Linked DNA regions of Homo sapiens: region 2 is linked to region 1. Evidence: promoter capture Hi-C in human tissues and cell types (Jung and others, 2019). All regions are on one chromosome and are shown on one strand. Each heading gives the region's core, a stretch centred on a gene start or on the middle of the fragment in contact. The rest is flanking DNA. Distances are from core to core; before and after follow the strand shown.

The links. Contacts are between HindIII fragments. The study calls those that stand out against the background at their distance.
Region 2: a contact is called between a fragment that was not itself captured here and the fragment with the promoter of SYNGR1 in region 1, in 1 of the 25 tissues and cell types used here (dorsolateral prefrontal cortex).

Annotation. Positions count from the first base shown.
Region 1 is chr22:39,347,719-39,351,275 of GRCh38, forward strand. It overlaps SYNGR1 (synaptogyrin 1), which reads left to right and starts at 2,273. Exons shown (of 4, transcript NM_004711.5): 1 at 2,273-2,391. The coding sequence starts at 2,293. RefSeq lists a silencer at 2,320-2,479. The HindIII fragment of the contact is 13,153 bases long and covers 1-3,557 here.
Region 2 is chr22:40,355,364-40,361,424 of GRCh38, forward strand. ADSL (adenylosuccinate lyase) reads left to right here. Exons shown (of 13, transcript NM_000026.4): 5 at 3,501-3,672; 6 at 3,897-3,943; 7 at 5,039-5,129; 8 at 5,910-5,979. Among named protein-coding and RNA genes, the nearest start is that of ADSL, 12 kb to the left of the region's middle. The HindIII fragment of the contact is 4,642 bases long and covers 1,021-5,662 here.

The DNA of each region.
Region 1 (3,557 bases), core at 1,023-3,522:
CCACATCACACCCAGCTTGTATTTCTGACTAATGATGTTGGGCATCTTTTCTTTTCTTTCTTTCTTTCTTTTTTTTTTTTTTTTTTTTTTTTTGAGACAGAGTCTCGTTCTGTCGCCCAGGCTGGAGTGCAGTGGCGCGATCTCGGCTCACTGCAAGCTCCGCCTCCCGGGTTCACGCCATTCTCCTGCTTCAGCCTCCCGAGTAGCTGGGACTACAGCCACTACACCCGGCTAATTTTTTTTTTTTTTTTTTTGTATTTTTACTAGAGATGAGGTTTCACCGTGTTAGCCAGGATGGTCTCAATCTCCTGACCTCATGATCTGCCCGTCTCGGCCTCCCAAAGTGCTGGGATTATAGGCGTGAGCCACCGCGGATGCTGGGCATCTTTTTATGTGCTGAGTTGCCGTGTGTATATCTTCTTTGGTGAGGTGTATAACTATTCAAATCTTTTGCCCATTTTTTAAAAAGTGGGTCCTCTTATTATTATTGAGTTCGAACGTTCTTTATTTGGGATGCAAGTTCTTTAGATCTATGCTTTGCAAATATTTTCTCCCAGACTATCGTTTGTCTTTTCATACATTCTTTTAACAATGTCTTTTAAAGAACAGAAGTTCTTAATTTTGATAAAGTCCAGTTTATCAATTGTTTCTTTTATGAATCATGTTCTTCATGATTTTTTTTTTTTTTTTTTTTTTTTGAGACGGAGTCTCGCTCTGTTGCCAGGCTGGAGTGCTGTGGCGCGATCTCGGCTCACTGCAACCTCCACCTCCTGGGTTCAAGTGATTCTCCTGCCTCAGCCTCCCAAGTAGCTGGGACTACAGGAGCTCGCCACCACGCCCGGCTAATTTTTGTATTTTTAGTAGAGACCGGGTTCACCATGTTGGCCAGGATGGTCTCAATCACTTGACCTTGTGATCCATCCACCTTGGCCTCCCAAGGTGCTGGGATTACAGGCGTGAACCACTGCGCCCGGCCTTCTCTTGTGCTTTCTTCTAAAAGTTTTATATAGTCATAGTAGACACCTTATAAGTGTGCTGGATTAAATGTGAAAATGTATGTAAAGCCCTTAGCACAAGGCCTGGTAGAGACTAAACAATCAGCTGAGCCTAAGATGGACATTGACTATGTAATTTTTATAAGGAGCACCCTCAGGCCCAGCACACATTTCCTCCACACAGATGTTGTGTCCTGTCATCACAGAATGGCAGGATACCAGAGAAGCAAAAGCCTCCACCCATATCCTCATCCAACCTGCTCCTGGAACCAGTGAAGGTGACTGCAGACATAGAGAGGCCATAGAGCTACAGGGCAGCAGGAGAGCCAGCCCTGGAAGGTGGCCCTTCCCCTGCAGGGAGCACTCCTCCATCTAGCCTCCGTTTCCATGAAACCTGGAGGTCTAGCCCAAGCTGTGATGGGGTGATGGGGACTAGGCTCTGTTTACTGAGCACCTACTGTATGCTAGGCCCTTGGGTAAGGCATTGAATAAGTTAGACAACACCTGGGCCTCGGGAGCTCACAGACTAGCAGCAGAAGAGGCCATGAACAAATGATTGCGTAATTAATTGCTAGATTCAGGAAAGGGGCAACGTTCTGGGGTAGGAGGGGATGGGGAAGAGGAAGTCTCAGCCGCCGCCTCTGTGCCAGGCCCCTCCAGGCTGGGGGTGGGAGGGTGCGCGGGCACAGGGACACACATGACGTCATCGTAAGAGGCAGGGGAAGGGTGGTCCTGGGAGGTGGGGGCTGCTCTGGAGGGCTGTAAGAGAGGGTCATTCACTCGTGGTTCATTCATTCGAGAAATATTCATGCGGCGCCTACTGCGTACCAAGCACCCTCTAAGAAGGACGAACACAGCTCCTGCCCTCTCATTATATTTGGGGCCGACAAAGTGGCAGGAAACAGCCAAACAAATCAAGCGTGAAGATGGTTTCAGCAGAGCCGACGGCTCAGAGGGGCTGCGACCGGGGCAGGGGACCGGGGATGCGGGGCAGGGACACGGCCCACACTTGCTGTGCACGCACCGCCCTCCCCCAAACACTTTGCAAAGAGGTCACCGCACTGGCTGCGAGCGCGCCCTGAGCCCCGGGCCGCAGCACGCGCGCCCCCGCGCCCGAGGTCGCGCGCTGCCCAGCCCCCCGCCCGCGCCCCGCGAGCTGCGCCCGCCGCGCACGACGCCCCCTCGCGGGAGCCCTGGGCCGCCGGCCGCGCGCGCAGGGGAGGGGGCGGGGGCGCCGCGCACGCGCACGGGCCGGCGGCGCGCGCCGAGCGGGGGGCACCGCGCGGGTGCAGCCACGATGGAAGGGGGTGCGTACGGAGCGGGCAAAGCCGGGGGCGCCTTCGACCCCTACACCCTGGTCCGGCAGCCGCACACCATCCTGCGCGTCGTGTCTTGGGTAAGGACGGACTGGCCGACGGCTCTGCCAGGCCGGGGTGGTGGGGGTGTGAGCAAAGGCGGCGCGCCCGGACCGACCCCGACCCCGACCCCAACGGGCCCCCGGCGGCGGCGCGGCGGCGGGCGAGGAGCTGTCCTGCCTGCGGGGCCCGCTGCCGCCGCTCCTCCTTCCCGGGCCCGGGGCGGGCGGGATCCCTGGTGCTCGCGGGAGACGCCGCTCCGGCTCCCGGAGCCCTGGTTTCCTGGGGCCCCCGGTTCGTGCGCCCCCCTTCCCGCCCCGATTGCTGTGACCTCCAGGCCGCGGCTATGCCGCGAAAGGCTCGGATTGTGCGCGGCCGCCAGGGCGGACTGGGGACCGTGGGGACGGAGCCAGGGTTTAAGGTGGCCTTTTTTGGGGGGTGGATCAGGGCGTGGACCATCTCGGTGGGGTGCATGCCGCGCCTGCGATGGACGTTGGAGGAGGAGAGGGCCGGGAACCGGGTTCGTATTGCCTAGCCCGGCCCGTGTGGAGCGATGAGTCGGGAACTGAGTACCTCTCTTCCACCCGGGAACTGCCTCTCCTTCTCTGCGTGACCTTGGGCTGGGAGCCACCCAGGAAATGTTCTCGAGAAATGAGGACTTCAATTCCGAGGTGGGGAGTGTCATCTCCTCTCTCATGCCTCAGTTTCCCAATTTATAGACAAGGTGGGCGGAGCCTTCTTGAGGCCCCCTTGGGCTCTGACATTTCATGAACCGGTAACACCCCTCCCACTCAGCATGCACCTGGATGCCCAAGGCGGGTGTCTGGGAGAAAGGTCTGCTCCCACAGTGAAGAGGCCAGGGTGGCCTCCAGCCTAGCTGGGGGGCAGGGTCCTCAGTGCAGAGGGCTGAGTGGGCTCTTGTTCAGACGGGTGGTCAGGGAGAGGATGGGTCAGAGACAGTGAGCACAGAGGGAGGGGTTCAGGTGCCTTGAGTGGCACCTCATGGAAAGAAGCCCTGCTGGGGTCTGGAGAGGGGGTTTCTGGGGCTCCCTGGGTTTGGCTGGCTGTATCCCAGAAACTCCCACTCGAGGTTCTGGCCTCTGCAGGCCTGGGGCCCGTTCCTTGTGGGCTTAGACTAGGAATGGGCTAGACTGTCAGGGACCCCAGGGGCTACCCCAAGGCCAGCTGTGACCTCAGGGTGCCCAAG
Region 2 (6,061 bases), core at 2,092-4,591, 1.0 Mb after region 1:
AACTCCTGACCTCAAGTGATCTGCCCACTTGAGATCCGCCCACCTCGGCCTCCCAAAGTGCTGGGATTACAGGCGTGAGCCACCGCGCCCGGCCTAGACATTTCATATAAACAGAATCGCATACAATATGTGACCTTTTGTGTCTGGCTTCTGTTGCTGTTTTCAATATCCATGTTGAATCAGAACTTCGGTTCTTTTTATGACTGAAAAGCGTTCCATTGGTTGTACCATGTTTCATTTACCCAATTGTCAACAACTGATGGACATTTGGGTAATTTCTACTTTTTGGCTACTATGAATAATGCTGCCATGAACAAGTCCATGCTAATTTACTTCTTTCTTTGCTTACACCAATAATCTGTTAGCAGTTAACAAGGAAAACAGTAAGATTAATTTTGGGGATATACTATAGCTTGTGATGTGCCTCCTATGGACATTCCTAGTGTTACGCCTTGATGTTCCTAGCTGTCAGTGTCATTAGCCTAAGAGGAAAGAAATTCCATTTGGAATAGGTTAGGTTATCTATTAGAAATTAGGCTGGGTCCAGGTGCAGTGGCTCATGCCTGTAATCCCAGCACTTTGGGAGGCCAAGGTGGGTGGATCACCTGAGGTCAGGAGTTCAAGACCAGCCTGGCTCACATGGTGAAACCCTGTCTCTACTAAAAATACAAAAAAAAAAAAAAAAAAAATTAGCCGGACGCAGTGGCGCATGCCTATAGTCCCAGCTACTTGGGAGGCTGAGGCAGGAGAATTGTTTGAACCTGGGAGGCGGAGGTTGTAGTGAGCCAAGATTGCACCATTGCACTCCAGCCTAGGTGACAGAGCGAGACTCCACCTCAAAAAAAAAAAAGAAAAGAAAGAAAGAAATTAGGCTGGGCGGTTAGGCTGGGCAGCCGGGCGCAGTGGATCGTGCCTGTAATCTCAGCACTTTGGGAGGCCGAGGCAGGTGGATCACGAGGTCAGGAAATCAAGACCAGCTTGGCCAACATGGTGAAACTCCATGTGTGCTAAAAATAACACAAATAGCTGGGTGTGGTGGCAGATGCCTGTAATCCCAGCTACTCAGGAGGCTGAGGCAGGAGAATCACTTGAACCCCGGAGGCAGAGGTTGCAGTGAGCCAAGATCGCGCCGCTGCACTCCAGCCTGGGCGACAGAGTGAAATTCCGTCTCCAAAAAAAAAAAAAAAAGAAAGAAATTAGGCTGGTCATAGTGACTTATGGCTGTAATCTCGGCACTTTGCGGGGCCAAGGCAGGACGATAGCTTGAGGCATGGAGTTCGAGACCAGCCTGGGCAACATAGGGAGACCATGGCTCTTAAAAAAAATAAAGTTAGCCAGGTGTGGTGGCTTGTGCCTGTAGTTCCAGCCACTCAGGAGGCTGAGGCAGGAGGTTGGCTTGAGCCCAGGAGATTGAGGCTACAGTGAGCTGTGATTATACCAGCGTGTGCCAGCCTGGGGTGACAGAGTGAGACCCTGTCTCAAAAAAGAAAGAAATTGGACATTAGGGCAACTTATTCATAATTATATATTTTGTTTTTTTGTTTTGTTTTGAGACAGAGTCTCACTCTGTCACCTAGATTGGGGTACAGTGGTGTGATCTCAGCTCACTGCAGCCTCAGCTTCCCGGATTCAAGTGATTCTCCCACCTCAGCCTCCCAAGTACCTGGGATTACAGGTGTGCACCACCACACTTGGCCAGTTTTTGTATTTTTTGTAGAAACAGGGTTTTACCATGTTGGCCAGGCTGGTCTCAAACTCCTGGCTTCAAGTGATCCACCTGCCTCGGCCTCCCAAAGTGCTGGGATTACAAGCGTGAGACACCGCACCTGGCCTCGTAATTATGTTTTATGTTCAGAAACAGACCTTCAGTGGCTTGATTTGGGCTTTTTTTTTTTTTTTTTTTTTTTGACATGGAGTTTCGCTTTTGTCATCCAGGCTGGAGTGCAGTGGCACAATCTTGGCTCACCGCAGCCTCCGCCTCCTGGGTTCAAGTGATTCTCCTGCCTCAGCTTCCCGAGTAGCTAGGATTACAGGCATGCACCACCACGCCTGGCTAATTTTGTATTTTTAGTAGAGACGGGGTTTCTCTGTGTTGGTCAGGCTGGTCTCAAACTCCCGATCTCAGGTGATCCGCCCTCCTTGGCCTCCCAAAGTGCTGGAATTACAGGCATGAGCCATGGCACCCTACTTTGATTTAGGCTTAATGCTGGAAACAAAGCCATTAGCTGCTGTGTTTGAGTCCTCTGGTTATGTGTGTTGTGTAGCTGTTCTCCATAGCATGACTATTCCTCACTGGATCTTGACTCCTCACAAAGGCTTTCCTCTACTTCCAATCTAGAGCAGCCATCACCATTACCTTCATCGTTCTTTTATTCTTTTAGCACTTAAAATCTCAATAATTAATCTTGTTTCTTTTTTTTCATTTGTTTTTTTGAGACAGAATCTGGCTGTGTCGCCCAGTGCGGTGTCACAGTCTCGGCTCATTGCAACCTCTGCCTCTCAGGTTCGAGTGATTCTCCTGCCTCAGCCTCCCAAGTAGCTGGGATTACAAACACCCGCCACCACGCCCAGTTAATTTTTTGTATTTTTAGTAGAGACAGGGTTTTACCTGTCTCTGTTGGCCACGCTGGTCTCGAACTCCTGACCTCAAGTGATCCCCCCGTCTCAGCCTCCCAAAGTGCTGGGATTATAGGCATGAGCCACCGCGCCTGGCCTAATCTTGTTTTGTTTTCTTTTTTTACTCGTTTACAATGTAAGCAAGTGCCACTGGACAAGGACCCTGTCTGTGTTATTCCTTGTTGTATTTCCAATAGTAAGAGTACATCAGATACTTGGCAAATATTACACGAGTATCTAATGTATTTCTTACCAATGTCTGTGGATATAGCCATGAACAAAAGGGACATTGTCCCTGCCCTTATAATAAATTGTCTCTTGCCGTGCATCACAGTGGTTCATGCCTGTAATCCCAACACTTTGGAAGGCTGAAGTAGGTGGATCGCTTGAGACATAGAGTTTGAGACCAGCCTGAGCAACAAAGTGAGACCCCGTCACTACAAAAAATTTAAAAATTAGCCAGGCATGGTATTGCATGCCTGTGGTCCCAGCTACATGGAAGGCTGAGGCAGAAGGATCACTTGAGCTCCAGAGGTCGAGGCTACAGTCAGCTATGTTCATGCCACTGCACTTCAGCTTGGGCAACAGAGCAAGACCCAGTCTAGAAATAATAATAATTTAAAAATTGCCTCTTGATGAAGAAAGTACTATGCTAATCGCCTTTTAGTTTCATACTCCTTGACTATTTGTAAATGACATTGAATCTCCGTAACGATTATTTGGTTAAACATTTTATCTCTTGTTTTATCTTTACCAGTTACTCCCTCTCTTACTTAAATTGTTCTCCCTCCAAGGGGTAATGGTGGTTATTAAAAGAAGCAATGAAACCTTGATGATTTAAGGTCTCGGTCTGAGACTTTCGTGTGTTCTCTTTGGGTTTTCAGGCCTGCACAGCTGACCACAGTTGGGAAACGTTGCTGTCTTTGGATTCAGGATCTTTGCATGGATCTCCAGAACTTGAAGCGTGTCCGAGATGACCTGCGCTTCCGGGGAGTAAAGGGTACCACTGGCACTCAGGCCAGTTTCCTGCAGCTCTTTGAGGGAGATGACCATAAGGTATTCTGAAAGTGACCTGCAGGACACAGAAACTCAATGGTGGAGCCTAAGAGACAAGGCTGCCTTTGAGGATGATAGGAGAGATTGACTGTGGGATGGGTGGGGTCTTTCGACTAGAAGGAAGTTGTGGGGGTTAGGGAGCGAGACCTGGGTAGGATGACAGGTTGAGGCATTCTCACACTGGACACATGGATTATTATAAGGATGTGTCTTTTCTTTCCAAGGTAGAGCAGCTTGACAAGATGGTGACAGAAAAGGCAGGATTTAAGAGGTAGGTAAATGGGAATGTGTTGGCCTCCCTGTTAAGTTGATGGAAGTCCTATATTCAGTATACCTGCAGATTTGACCTTACAATTTTTGCCTTTTTCTTCCTTTGTTCTTCTACCCATTTTTTTTTTTCCTGTCTCTATCCTGGGTTTTACTTTCTTACTATCTGGATTCTTTTTTTTTTTTTTTTTTTTTCGCCTAATCGTCTTGCTGACATATTTTCTGGATTTCATTTTATTTTATTATTGTTTTTGAGACAGGGTCTTACTCTGTCACCCAGGCTGGAGTGCAGCGGTGTGATCTCGGCTCACGGCAGCCTCCGCCTCCCAGTTTCAAGCAGTCCTTCCACCTAAGCCCCCTGTGACTACAGGCATGCCTGGCTAATTTTTGTATTGTTTTTGTATAATTTTTGTATTGTTTTGTAGAGACCATGTTGCCCAGGCTGGTCTCCAACTCCTGAGATCAAGCGATCCACCTGCCTCAGCCTCAAAGTGCTAGGATTATAGGCATGAGCCACCATGCCTGACCTGCATTCTCTTTTTGTATAATCTATAGGAAAAAAGAAAATGATTTACTTCTGGTTTCTTTAGAATACCTTTATCCATGTTGTTACCATTTTTGTTTCTTTACTTAGGGCCCCCAACAGGTTAGGCTAAATCTGACCATTTCCATTGAGGTCCACCAGGTTCCACCATGGCTCCTTCTCCCAGGCATTTCTATTGGGCTGTGGCCAGACATGGGCACGTTGCACCATGTATCCTTCTTGAGTCAGGCCATTGTCCTGAGTATTAGTGAAAAGGGTGGAAGAATAGTTTATTCCAGGAGCAAGTTACCACTCAGGTCCACTGGTTGAGTATAACTTAGCATACCAATAAGACCAAGCTTTTCTTTAGGATGTGTTTTTCCTTGTTTGACAGAGTCATGTTTTGAATTATTATTATTTTATAAGAGTCTCCCAGTGATGCTTAGGCTGGCCTTAACCTCCTGAGTTAAAGCAGTCCTCCTCCGTTAGCCTCCTAAGTAGCTGGGACTACAGTCATGCACCACTGCAATGGCTTTAAAATATTTTAACCTAAGTCTCTCTTGTACTTATTCCTAGAGCTTTCATCATCACAGGGCAGACATATACACGAAAAGTGGATATTGAAGTACTGTCTGTGCTGGCTAGCTTGGGGGCATCAGTGCACAAGGTGAGTGGTGGCAGCATGTGGGGTGGGGACAGGAGCTTTGGGCACCACAGACAGACTGAATTAACCTCAGACTTTTACTTAACCATCTCTCTCAAGCAATATTTTACATTAGTTTTAATAATTTGTGGTCTGTAAATGAAACCCTTAAGGGGAAGACTCGTTTTGGCATTTTCTTTAAAGTTATCTCAAGCACTGCAAAACATCCATCTTGTTCAGTGGTATATTAAATTAATCTTTTTTTTTTTTCGAGATGGAGTTTCGCTCTTGTTGCCCAGGCTGGAGTGCAATGGTATGATCTCGGCTCACTGCAACCTCCACCTCCTGGGTTCGAGCGAGCCTCCCAAGTAGCTGGGATTACAGGCATGCACCACAATGTCTGGCTAATTTTAGTAGAGGCAGGGTTTCACCATGTTGGCCAGGCTGGTCTCGAACTCCTGACCTCAGGTGATCCACCCACCTCAGCCTCCCAAAATGCTGGGATTACAGGTGTGAGCCACCGCGCCCATCCTGAATTAATCTTGTGATTTTCTTTCCATGATGCCTTAAGCAGTGTTTCACAAAAGCGTTTTCATGCTCCTTGAATTTGTCATCCCAGTCCTTCGGGAACAGAGAGGAGTCGGAGTAAGATACTCTGCAGGAGCTCTTTGGGAGGATGCGCTGGTCTTCAGCTCAGCCACAGCACACCTAAGAGCTCATCTCCTTCATCAGCCTAGTCACAGCTCCCAGACTCTACTGCACACTGACAGTGTGGGGTGATGCTTATTCCCCTACCTCCCCCAGATTTGCACCGACATACGCCTCCTGGCAAACCTCAAGGAGATGGAGGAACCCTTTGAAAAACAGCAGATTGGTGAGTGCTGTGTAGAGACCTGTGAGCACACATTGCTGCTGGAAGGCTGTGGATGGGGGCTGAGAGCTCATTCAGCATGCTT